Regions from separate parts of the Homo sapiens genome. Here region 1 is linked to region 2. The links are contacts of gene promoters, found by promoter capture Hi-C in human tissues and cell types (Jung and others, 2019). All regions are on one chromosome and are shown on one strand. The core of a region is centred on a gene start or on the middle of the fragment in contact, and the rest is flanking DNA. Distances in the headings are between cores, read along the strand shown. Region 1 overlaps TNS1 (tensin 1). Region 2 holds the start of TNS1 (tensin 1).

Region 1 (4,870 bases), core at 1,537-4,036, 140 kb before region 2:
CCAGGCAGGGCTCCAGGAGGGGACAGGAGCCCCAACATGAAGTTCTCAGTGCAAAGCTTTGGATTCTGGCTTGGCAACTTGACATTTTGGAGGGCCTAACTTTGGGAAGGCCAGTGTGTGTCTGGCCAGGTATATTGATCCTCCAGGCCACCTGAGATGCTTCCAATTGACTGGCTATTGGTATTCTGTTTGTTCCCATCTGTGGAAATCATGAATAGCAGAGTATCACTTTTCAGAGTTCGCAATGCCTCACCCTCGTTCCCAACCACCCAGATCCGAGAGCCATGCAGCTGAAAGGCAGGTGAACGGCCCTCAAGTTCCCACCATTATCCTGATGTGCCCTGGAAAGTGCCAGGAGTCCCTAACTGATAATAAGACACCAAATCCCCACTCTTATTAACATGTTGTTTGTGACTTATTTGCATATCAATTGAATCTCCCAACCCAATTCTCAGAGTGGACAGGAGGTGATCTGGGCTTTGCGGCCAGGCCAGTGGGAGCTTCAGCGACTGGTGTCTCCATGCAGAGGGCCCCAGTTAGTTTGCAACCCCAAAATGCTTCCACAGACACAGGCTTGCCCTGAGCTATGGCTACCCCATCCTCGTGCCCAGACCTTCCCAGCTAAGTTTGGTACAGCGAGATTGGGAGGGAAAGCCCTGCCAGGCACAGCCCAACTACTCCCTGTGTTTCCCCTCAGACACCTGAGCCCTCAGCCCCTCGCCATTTTCAGCACCCCTCTCTGGCTGCTGTTCTTTGAGGGTAAAGAAAGAAAATAAGGGGAAGAACAAAAATGGTACCCAGTGCCCTGTACCCTGGCCACTGACCTATCTTCACTGATGAGATAAAATGGGACAGCTCGGTGTCACAGACTTCAAAGAGACCACTAAAAATAAGGAGACCAGGGGAGGGGAAGCAGAGGGGTTCTATGCCTCAGGCTCCACCTGGGGAAGACCACAGTTTGGACAAACTATTGCAATTATCCTCCTACCTCCATAGAGTCTTCTAGAACTAACCAACAAACCTCGGGCTCTTGAAAGGTTTAAGGCACCCCAGTTCACCCACTTGTCCCCACCCCAACCAACCCACAACAGTATTAGCAGAGATTTTGTTTGCACGCAACCTTCATGTTTATTTGTCCATCTGAATATCATCTACATTATTATTTTGTAAGTTATAAAAATAAACTTCATTTAACTTAAACTAGTTCTAAGCACAATATCCATGATGTCCCAGATTGAATGTGCAAAATACATACCTTTTTTTCCAATACACATCAAAATAAATATACCTAATATCAGTTCATATATAATTAGCAGTCTGACCATACTTTGGAACCTGAACCTTACTTTGGAAAACACTACCACACAATAGTTCCTGCCAGTGGCAACCCCATCTGATGGTTCTCCACTATCATCCAGGGGGACTAGCTATACTAGAAAGCCCCCAGGGAGTTTTATAAGAACCCCGATCCCCTGGCTCCACACAGAGGCAAAACTGTCTGGAATGGGGCCTGGGACTTTGAATTTGAAAATGCTCCCCAGCTGCAAATAATAAGAGAGTCAGGTTTGGCAAAAACTGTTCCTAGCTGTACTCAAATTCTTCCAGGTACAGGGATTTTACTGTCTTCCTCCAAAAGCCCAGCTCATCTTTAGGGGGCCGTAACAGTGGATTTTAGCTCAACATAGGAAAAAACACCCTGGAGCCCTCTTTTCCACTAACTGGCCTTACAGTGCCCGATGGAGTGGGTCAGAACAAGCCAATCGCCCCCTCGCTAGAGCCCTTCAGATACTGAATGAGACGTGCCTGCCCTCCTGAATCTCCCCTTTGACAGGCAACCCCTCTCCCTGCAAGTCCCTGAGCCTGACATACTTTCTGGTTGCTTCTCTGCACTTGCTTCCAGTCGTTCTTTATCACTTTGAAGCAAGGGACCCACAAACAGCCCATGTGGGCGCTCTGACTTAAAAGAGGCACAACAGGCCTGTCACCTCCCATTTTCTGGAAACCATGCTTTTGTTAATGCAGCCTAAGATTATGCCTGGCCCTTCTCATTCTCATCACTTCAGCATCTGCCAGGTTAAGAACATGGACTTGGAAGTCAGACATTGGTTTGAATACAGATACTACCAACTACTAGCTTAAGGCAACCCTGAGCCAATTACTTGGCTGAGCTTCAGTTTCCTTATCTGTAAAATGGGTATACTAGTCATTGTATCTCAGTAAGTAGTGCAAAGACTGATATAACACATGAAAAGCTCTCAGCACAGTGTACAGAACACAGAAGTGCTCCAAAGGACAGAACACGAGTAGTGCAGCGTGGGCTTCCCCGTCTCCCTTCCCTAGCCCTGTGCCCCCTGAGCAGTACCTCTGTGACCCTATCTCACCAGCCCATATGTATCACACCCAGTGCTTAAGCTTCAGGACATACAATTTGGCCCACCCGATCTCTGCTCAAAAATCATGGCCTGGAATGGCCAGCATAGAGAAGAGGCTTCCAAAATGGTGCAGACTACAAGGATGTGATGCCATTCCATTAACAAATACTGAGCCTATCCCAACACTGATTACTGCCAATGGTGTGCCTGAAAATGCATTGCCACTTCCACCTGCAGAGATGAATTCAGCCTCAAGGACCACAAGGAGAGAAGGACGGGCACAACCTCAGCTGCATGCATAAATAGGAAAGGACTTCCTGGGGGCTTGGGCAGAGGGCAGGGCATGGCAAATCTGGTTCAAAAAAGAATACACTTCGTCTTACCATGTTTCTATTTGGGGGAAAAAAAAAGACAATTTTTTTTCTTAAAACAAACTACAGGAAATAGCAGGAGAAAAGTCTTTCCCAATAGTGGGTGGGTTAAACTAAGCTTGAAAGATGATGGTATTACTCTGTCTTCAGAGGCAGCCCAGTATCCCCTGTACCCCCTGAGGTGGCCCTGAGCAGGGCAGTTTCATAAAACACAAGTTCTAGAGGTAGGAGGGTGGGTCTGGATACCTTCTGGAAACTTCTCAGGTGCCAAGGATTCTTCAAGACCCCAGATTTGCCACATGGCACCGCACTGTGGGCAGTCAGCCCAGGCAATTTCCTAGAATCCCCGCATGGTCAAGCCAGAGGATGTTGTGAGTTCATTGGGCCCAACCCACCCACCCGATTTCATCTGTCCAAGTCAGCGAAGGGAAGAGTTTCCCACTGTCACACATGGTCAGTGCTGGAGTGAGATTGCCACCAGGGCCCCTGGCTCTCAGAGGGAGTCCTCCCCACTGCCAGATCTCAGTCAGATGCCATGAGATGGGTGCTCAGAGACTGTGAACTCTCATTACAGAAGAACCACAAATGTCTGCAGGTCTAGCTGTGCGAGGAAAGTAGGATATTGGTGGACAATTCTACAATGAAGACACACTTCCCAACTGTAGGTCAAGCAAATGCCCCCATTCCCTCCAGACCATCCTTCCAGCCAGCAGACCTACAGCTGGAGCCAGGTGGCCAGGGCCCCTCACCCACACTGAGGGGTCTCTCCAGGGAGGAAGGGGGCCCAGCCTCCCTGGTCACCCCCTCCAAGGCTTAGTCCCTTCCTGTCAAGTTCTTTCTTTTCATTCGTAGGTATAAAGCAACATTCCTGGCCTGGCTCTTTGTTCTTCCTCGTAAAGAACAGAATGGCTGAGTGCTTTGGTTTCCAAGCAGCCGGGTCCCAGAACAGAAGGAGGAAACAGAACAGAGTGTCTCCAGTGAAAGACTACTTCACACCCTGCAGGTGGGACAGGTGAGATCACAAAGATGAGAGGTTAGAGGAAAGAGGAGCACCCCCAGGTAGCCAGGGCCCCCCAGGGAATGTGTGACAATACTGCAGATATTTGGGGTTATCACACCTGGAGGAAATACTACTGGTGTCTAGTGGGTACAGGCCAAAGATGCTGCTAAACATCCTACAATACACAGGACAGACCCCCACAACAAGCAATTGTTGTGGTGGTCCCAAGCAATTGTATTGGTCCCAAATGCCAATAGTACCACAGGTGAGAGGCCCTGAGCTAGACTGAGGGATGAAGGAGCCTGGGGTGTAATAGACCGATCTCCGAACTAAGACTCAAGAGTCTTGGGTTTCAACCCCATCTGGGCCACTACTTCACTGCTTAAACTTGGGCAAGTGATTTCCTTTTCCTGGGACTCAGTTTCCAACGTGGTAAAATGAGTGGGAGGAGATAAGCTTTGAACTCTAAAACTTCTGGTTCTATGGACAGCCATCAAGGAAGAGAAAGACATGGCTGGAGGGAGCAGTCAGGACAGGAGAAGGAAGGGGTCTCCCAAGATAGGCATGGTGTCAAGGTTCAAACGTCTGGGGATAGAGGGAGGAAGGGCCCGCTGCCTGGGGTGGGCACAGCAGCTGCATATGTGATGAAAACATGTCCTTAGACCTCCCCAGGACCTCCTCCCTGCCTCCCAGCCCAGTGGACAGGGAAGACAGGGCCATCGGAGCAGGACAAGCTTCAGGCACCCCTGGCAGGGCCTCAGCCTTCCAGGGTCTTCACACTTCCCATCCCAGGAAGGCAGTGGGCAGGGCCAGGCCCAGGAGCATGTTCCCTAAGAACAGGACAGGAGCCCTAGTGCCAGAGGATTACTCAGGAAGGGAATTGTCAACTCCCAGGCAGATGTTTGTGTTGGATGAGGGTCGGGACATATCCACTCACCGCGCTTCTGCTTCTCCCCACCCTTACTGCTCCCAGGACGTGGACACCATGTCAGTGGCAGTCCTCACTGAATGGGGAGAGGGTATATGGGGCTTTGGGAGCAAGGGCGAAGGAGAGGGTAGAATGGAATGAGGCAGGCATGTTATTGAGTATGTGCCTGCACGTTAATGGAAGTTCCCTTGCTTGGTTC
Region 2 (5,243 bases), core at 1,098-3,597:
CTGCTTTACCAAGCCTGCCCATACCAAACGATGGAAATAGGGTTTGAGCCTAGTCCTATCTGGTGCCAGGACTGCTTCCTCTGTCCAGTCCCTACTGCCCCAGTCTCTGGCCCATCCTGGCCATGGGCATCACAGCCAGCCTAGAAAGGATGGGGACTAGGAGAGGAGAGGAAAAGGAGACAGGGGAGGGACACAGGCTTTTCTAGTCTTAAAGACACTCAAGGCCAGGCGCAGTGGCTCACACCTATAATCCCAGCACTTTGGGAGGCTGAGACGGGAGGATCACTTGAGGTCAGGAGTTCGAGGCCAGCCTGGCCAACACGATGAAACCCCATCTCTACTAAAAATATAAAAAATTAGCTGGACATGTTGGCACGCACTTGTAGTCCCAGCTACTCGGGAGGCTGAGGCAGGAGAATTGCTTGGACCCAGGAGGTAGAGGTTATAGTGAGCCAAGATCATGCCATTGCACTCCAGCCTGGGTGACAGAGTGAGACTCCATCTCAATTAAAAAAAAAATGAATAAATAAAAATAAAGACACTCAAGGAAGCAGCACTCACAGCTGCCTTGGTCCCCAGACTCTTCCCCTTACTCTCAGGGAGGGTATAACACCCATAGGGCACTCTACCTGCCAGGCACTGCCCTGGGGAATTGGATACAAAATTTCATCCCTACCTCTCTGTACCCTGTTTCTCTGCAATCCTCATTTCACCAACGGGAAAGCAGAGGCTCACCAGGATGAGGCACTTTTCCCAGTATCAGTCAGCTGAAGGGATCTATAGAGCCCTCTCTCCAGTCACAGCAGCTCGTCACCCCTGGAGGTCTACCTGCCATCCTTCTTGTGTCACCCCTGGACGTCTACCTGCCATCCTTCTTGCTGCAGAGCTCCCTCCTGCCTACCTCTGTCCTCAGCACAGAGACGAACCTGGCCAAGGCTCCCATTTCCCAGATGTCAACACCAGCCCAGTAAACCACAAATGCATCCTGTGTGCAGGCCTCCCCAGTCACTCTCAATCTATTAATCCAATCCATCCCAGCACCCCAGCCCAACATGCCACCCAAACCGCCTCATTCCAGGCCCCCTCCCCCACCCTTTCTTTCTTTGCCCAGAGGACACCTGGCTGCCCGAGTTTGTGTTCCCACAACTGCCCCCAGCATGGGCTTGCCTGGGCCAAGAGGGCCCTCCCGAGGACTGGCCAGAACAAGGAAAGGGACAGGAAAGGCCACATCTGGATCACAGCCCTGAAGCCCCCTCCCCCAAACCAGCCATCACTCTCTCAGAGCCCAACAGTAACCTCAGCCAGGGACGACTTCCTCACCCTCCTGACCCCATGCATGCCTTTGCCTGGCCAAGACAGCCCCACAGGAGCCCCTCTGAGGAAGGGGTCCTCTCCTCCTCTGACCCCCAGCCCTTCTGCAGCAGGCAGCCCTCTCCCATCCCCCTTTACCCAGGAGCCTCAGCCCAGGTCTGGCCTTAAGACTTTTAACCTTCACCACGTGGCCCCCAGGCCTCTCTGCTGGCCCCCCTGGCATCCCCATCCTGAAACCCACCTCCCTGAACCTGGAGCCAAGAGAGAAAGGGGGAAGAGCGGGCCATGGCTCCCTCCTCCAGGATGGAGAGGTCTTGGTAGCAGGGGAGGGCTGTGGAGGAAGGGATGGCAGTGGGTGGAAGCTGAAACTGGGTGTAGAAGGAATAAAAGGGATGGACTCTGAGAATTCTCCCACAGCCCAGCTCTTCCAGACTTAATATTTTGGACTACTATTCTTTGCTCCCCAGCCCCACCACTGCCTCCTCCTCAAGATCTTGGGCTCAGCAACTGAGGGGGGGCGGTGAAGAATTTTCACCCCATTGTAGGATGCAAGTCGGGAGGAAAGGCTCTAAAGAGAAGCAAACTTCTCTGTGGCCTCCTTCCACTTACAGCTCTGGGACTCCATTGGGGGGTGGGGGGGTGGGGCAGGGGATGTACTGACCCGGGACCCTGGGCCTGGGCCCTGTTGGTGGGGAAAGTCTTCCGGCTGAGGGTTGCTCAAGTCAGTCTGTCCTTCTGTAGGTCAGAGACAGAAAGGCCCCTCCTTCAAGACTGACACCCCCCGACCCCGGGCTCTCAGCAAAAGGATAAGGTGGCAGGGGCCGGTGGGGGGCGGGGGGTTTGAGGAAGAGTAACGTCGCAGCTAAAGCAGCCAGACCTACCCAGAGCATGCAGGACAGACAGATCCACGTCATCTTTGCTGGGTCCCGTCACTGAGGCACGCCCAGGGCCTGTGAAGAGCCCCTGAAGCTAGAGTCCCCGCGGCGCTGGCAGAAGGGCTCTCTGAGTCCGCGGCTGCTCCGGCTCCGCCAGCATCTGCTGGGCCTCTCGCCCTGCTGCCTCCAGCTCACCCTCCCTCCTCCTCCTCCTCCCCCCACTCCACCCCTCGTCCCAGCCTCCTCTCTCCTCCCTCCTCCCAGGCTCCACCGGTGGCCTTGAGGGTCAGGAACCCTGCTTTGCAGGGGGTGTAAAGGGGACAGGGAAAAGGGAAAGCTACCAGAGGCAGGGCCCCCCCAGGCCGTGCCCCCCACCCCCGGACACACAACCCCTGTGTGCCACCAAGGCTCCTCAGTCTTCTGATCTGGTGCTGGTAGGCCTGGAGTCCTCCCTCCTCACTGCAGACCCCCGCCCCTGGCAAACCAGCCTGGGGGCCTTCACTCCTGGAACCCTCCAGACCACTGATGGATGAACAGACAGCCCCAGGCCCACACAATCAGCACACTCAGGGTGCCTTGGCCCCTCCCCTTCTCTGAGTACCCGTGCCTGCCTTCCTGGCCTCCTCGGAACACACATGCATTTGCACACACAGACTGGGACAGACTCTGGTGCCCACGCGCCAAGCTCAGAGCCCAGGACAGGCCTTAACACAGAAGAAATAGGGCCCGAGACTGGGGAAGAATGGCCCTGCCCCCAGGCTGTGGGTTTCATTCCAATTTTTTTCCTATTTCTTTTTTTTTCCCCCTTCTTTCTTTCTTTCCTGCAAACATCTGTCCCAGCCTTTCCTGCCCTTCTGAAAGGGAGCCCCGCTCCAGGCTCCCGCGAGAGTGTGTTTTTCTTGACTGTACCCGGGGCCAACATTTGGTTTGCATTTCCCCACTTCCTCCCCCTCCTCCCCTCTCCCCCTCCCTGGGCCCAGTTCTCCCCTCCCACCATTCCACAGGCCTATTTCTTCCCCTCAGTGTCCCCTGCCCACCAGCCCTCCCCTCCCCTCGCCCCCACCTCTGCCCAGGGACAATTGTTGGGGGTCTAGAGGGTGGAAAGGAGGCTGGGTCAAAACCCAAAAGTATTCCCACGGAGCACTAAGGGGGAATCCAGCAAAGTCTGCCCCAGGCCTTCATTGTCTGGAACCACCACGTTCCCCTCCAAAAAAAACCCTTCCTCTTTGAGCTCTGGCCTTGGCTGGACCAACTGAGGGTGGGTGGGGGCCAGTGAATCACCCGCTCTGTTCTTTGGAGCTGTCCAGGAGAAGGAGGGAGGGCTCAGCCCCACACCCTCCTGTGGACACACACACACACAAGGACACAGTCCAACTCACGTCAACACATAAGAGCCCTCCCAGAGTAGGCACTTGGAGACCTCGTTCCTAGACTGAGTCACTTAGCAAGAAAAGTTCTCTTGCCTGGCCTCCTATGCACACTGTGCTATACATGCCCTGGGGCCACATGCACGAAGGGTTACAGATCCCCTGCCTCCCCCCCCCACTCACCCAAGGCCATGCCATGCCGCTGTCTGTCAGCACCACATACCGTGCAACTACCAGCCTCCTCTTTCACAGGGATCTGCCCAGCCACTTGTGCCAACTCCCAGCCCAGGGACCACCCAAGACATCTACCTGGGAAACCCCAGAATGAAGGGGAAACACTGACTCTTCATCTGAAAAAAAGACTGCAGTATTCAGATACACAGGTTGTCCACAGCACAAGGGACTAACCATCTATTGTTTGGTGGTTCTGAGAAGTCAGGGGAGGACACTGAAGTGAAGTGTCAATTTCCAGCCCTTCCTAAAGCAGGTACCTGAGTGAAGAGTCTTTGTTCCGGTAGAGGAGTCAGGGTCCTCTCTCCATACTTCTCCAAGTCCTCCAGAGCTCTGGGGCTGGGAAAGATCCTGCCTCTAGTGTCCTTCCCTGCCAGGATCACAATGTCCCTCTGGACCCCCTACTCTAAGCCTCCTGGGGCTTCACTGACATTTTAGCCAACGCTGAAATGAACCAGTGTTCCACATGCAGTTGGCCCTGCAGTCACAGCTGGGGATGTCCATAGACAGAAACCTCTGCAAACCCTCCCGTCTCCCCTGGCTGGAGCACCAGGCAAGCAAAGGGGAGTGGTCTTCAGGAGGCCTCTCTGAGAGCCCCTGAGCCCCTCCTCAGCCACTATCACCAGCTCTGCCAGGCTGCCCTTGTCCCCTGACAAGTTCAAGCCTTCAGCCAGCTAAGCCCTGACATCCCAGTGCCCACTCACACCAAGCTCCCCGCTGCCTGCTCCCACAGCCCTTCACTGCTGGCGTCACTGAAGACGCCTCCAGGCAGCTTTCTCTGGAGTTCTGAGAAGTCACCTTGGGGCTTCCCAGAAATGCTGGAAAATCAAACCAAAAACCAAGTCACAGTGACACCAACTTGTCTGGCCTCCTACACAGCCCGAGGAGGCCCTGCTGCTTCCCCAGACTCCTCAGCTAGGACTGTGAATGGAAGTAGGGGACCCTAGTGCTGGGGGTTCCCTTGGAGAAACCCTCCCTCCAGAATACCCCCATCCCTCTTCTCCAAGCCTATGGGGTCTCTCCTGTATATTAATCGCTTATCATCAAGATGTCCTTCCTGCTAATTAACCACCATTTTCCCTGTTGAATGTTAAACTCTGCCGACTGAGGTGTCTCTAACTGTGTGTAATGACCCTGTTCCAGGCTTGTCAGCCTTTATTCCTCCTTCACAGCCTGGTGTCTCCACCCCAACCCACACACGGGCAAGGACGTGTCCTGTGTTTTGTATCCCCAGAGCCTGGCATACAGCAGGCACCAGACATGGTTGAAGAATGACTCAATCACTCAATCAATTAGTCAATGGATCCTAACATATTTTCCTACTGTAAGCATTCACTGCCTCCTTCCCAAACCTTCCTTCTTTTCCCTTCAAAAGGGCCTCAGGCAGCCCTGCCTGTACACTTTTGCCCACAATTTCAGTGCCACCCTATCTGCAGCCACCTCTGCCTGCTGCCAATGC

The links. Contacts are between HindIII fragments. The study calls those that stand out against the background at their distance.
Region 1: a contact is called between a fragment that was not itself captured here and the fragment with the promoter of TNS1 in region 2, in 5 of the 25 tissues and cell types used here (IMR-90 fibroblasts, bladder, mesenchymal stem cells and 2 more).

What each region holds. Positions count from the first base shown.
Region 1 is chr2:217,859,503-217,864,372 of GRCh38, forward strand. All of the region lies in intron 18 of TNS1 (tensin 1), which reads right to left. Among named protein-coding and RNA genes, the nearest start is that of SNORA115, 28 kb to the left of the region's middle. The HindIII fragment of the contact is 3,104 bases long and covers 1,235-4,338 here.
Region 2 is chr2:218,000,648-218,005,890 of GRCh38, forward strand. It overlaps TNS1 (tensin 1), which reads right to left and starts at 2,348. Exons shown (of 33, transcript NM_001387777.1): 1 at 2,193-2,348. The coding sequence starts at 2,225. RefSeq lists enhancers at 792-1,292, 1,293-1,793, 3,534-3,633. The HindIII fragment of the contact is 30,357 bases long and covers 1-5,243 here.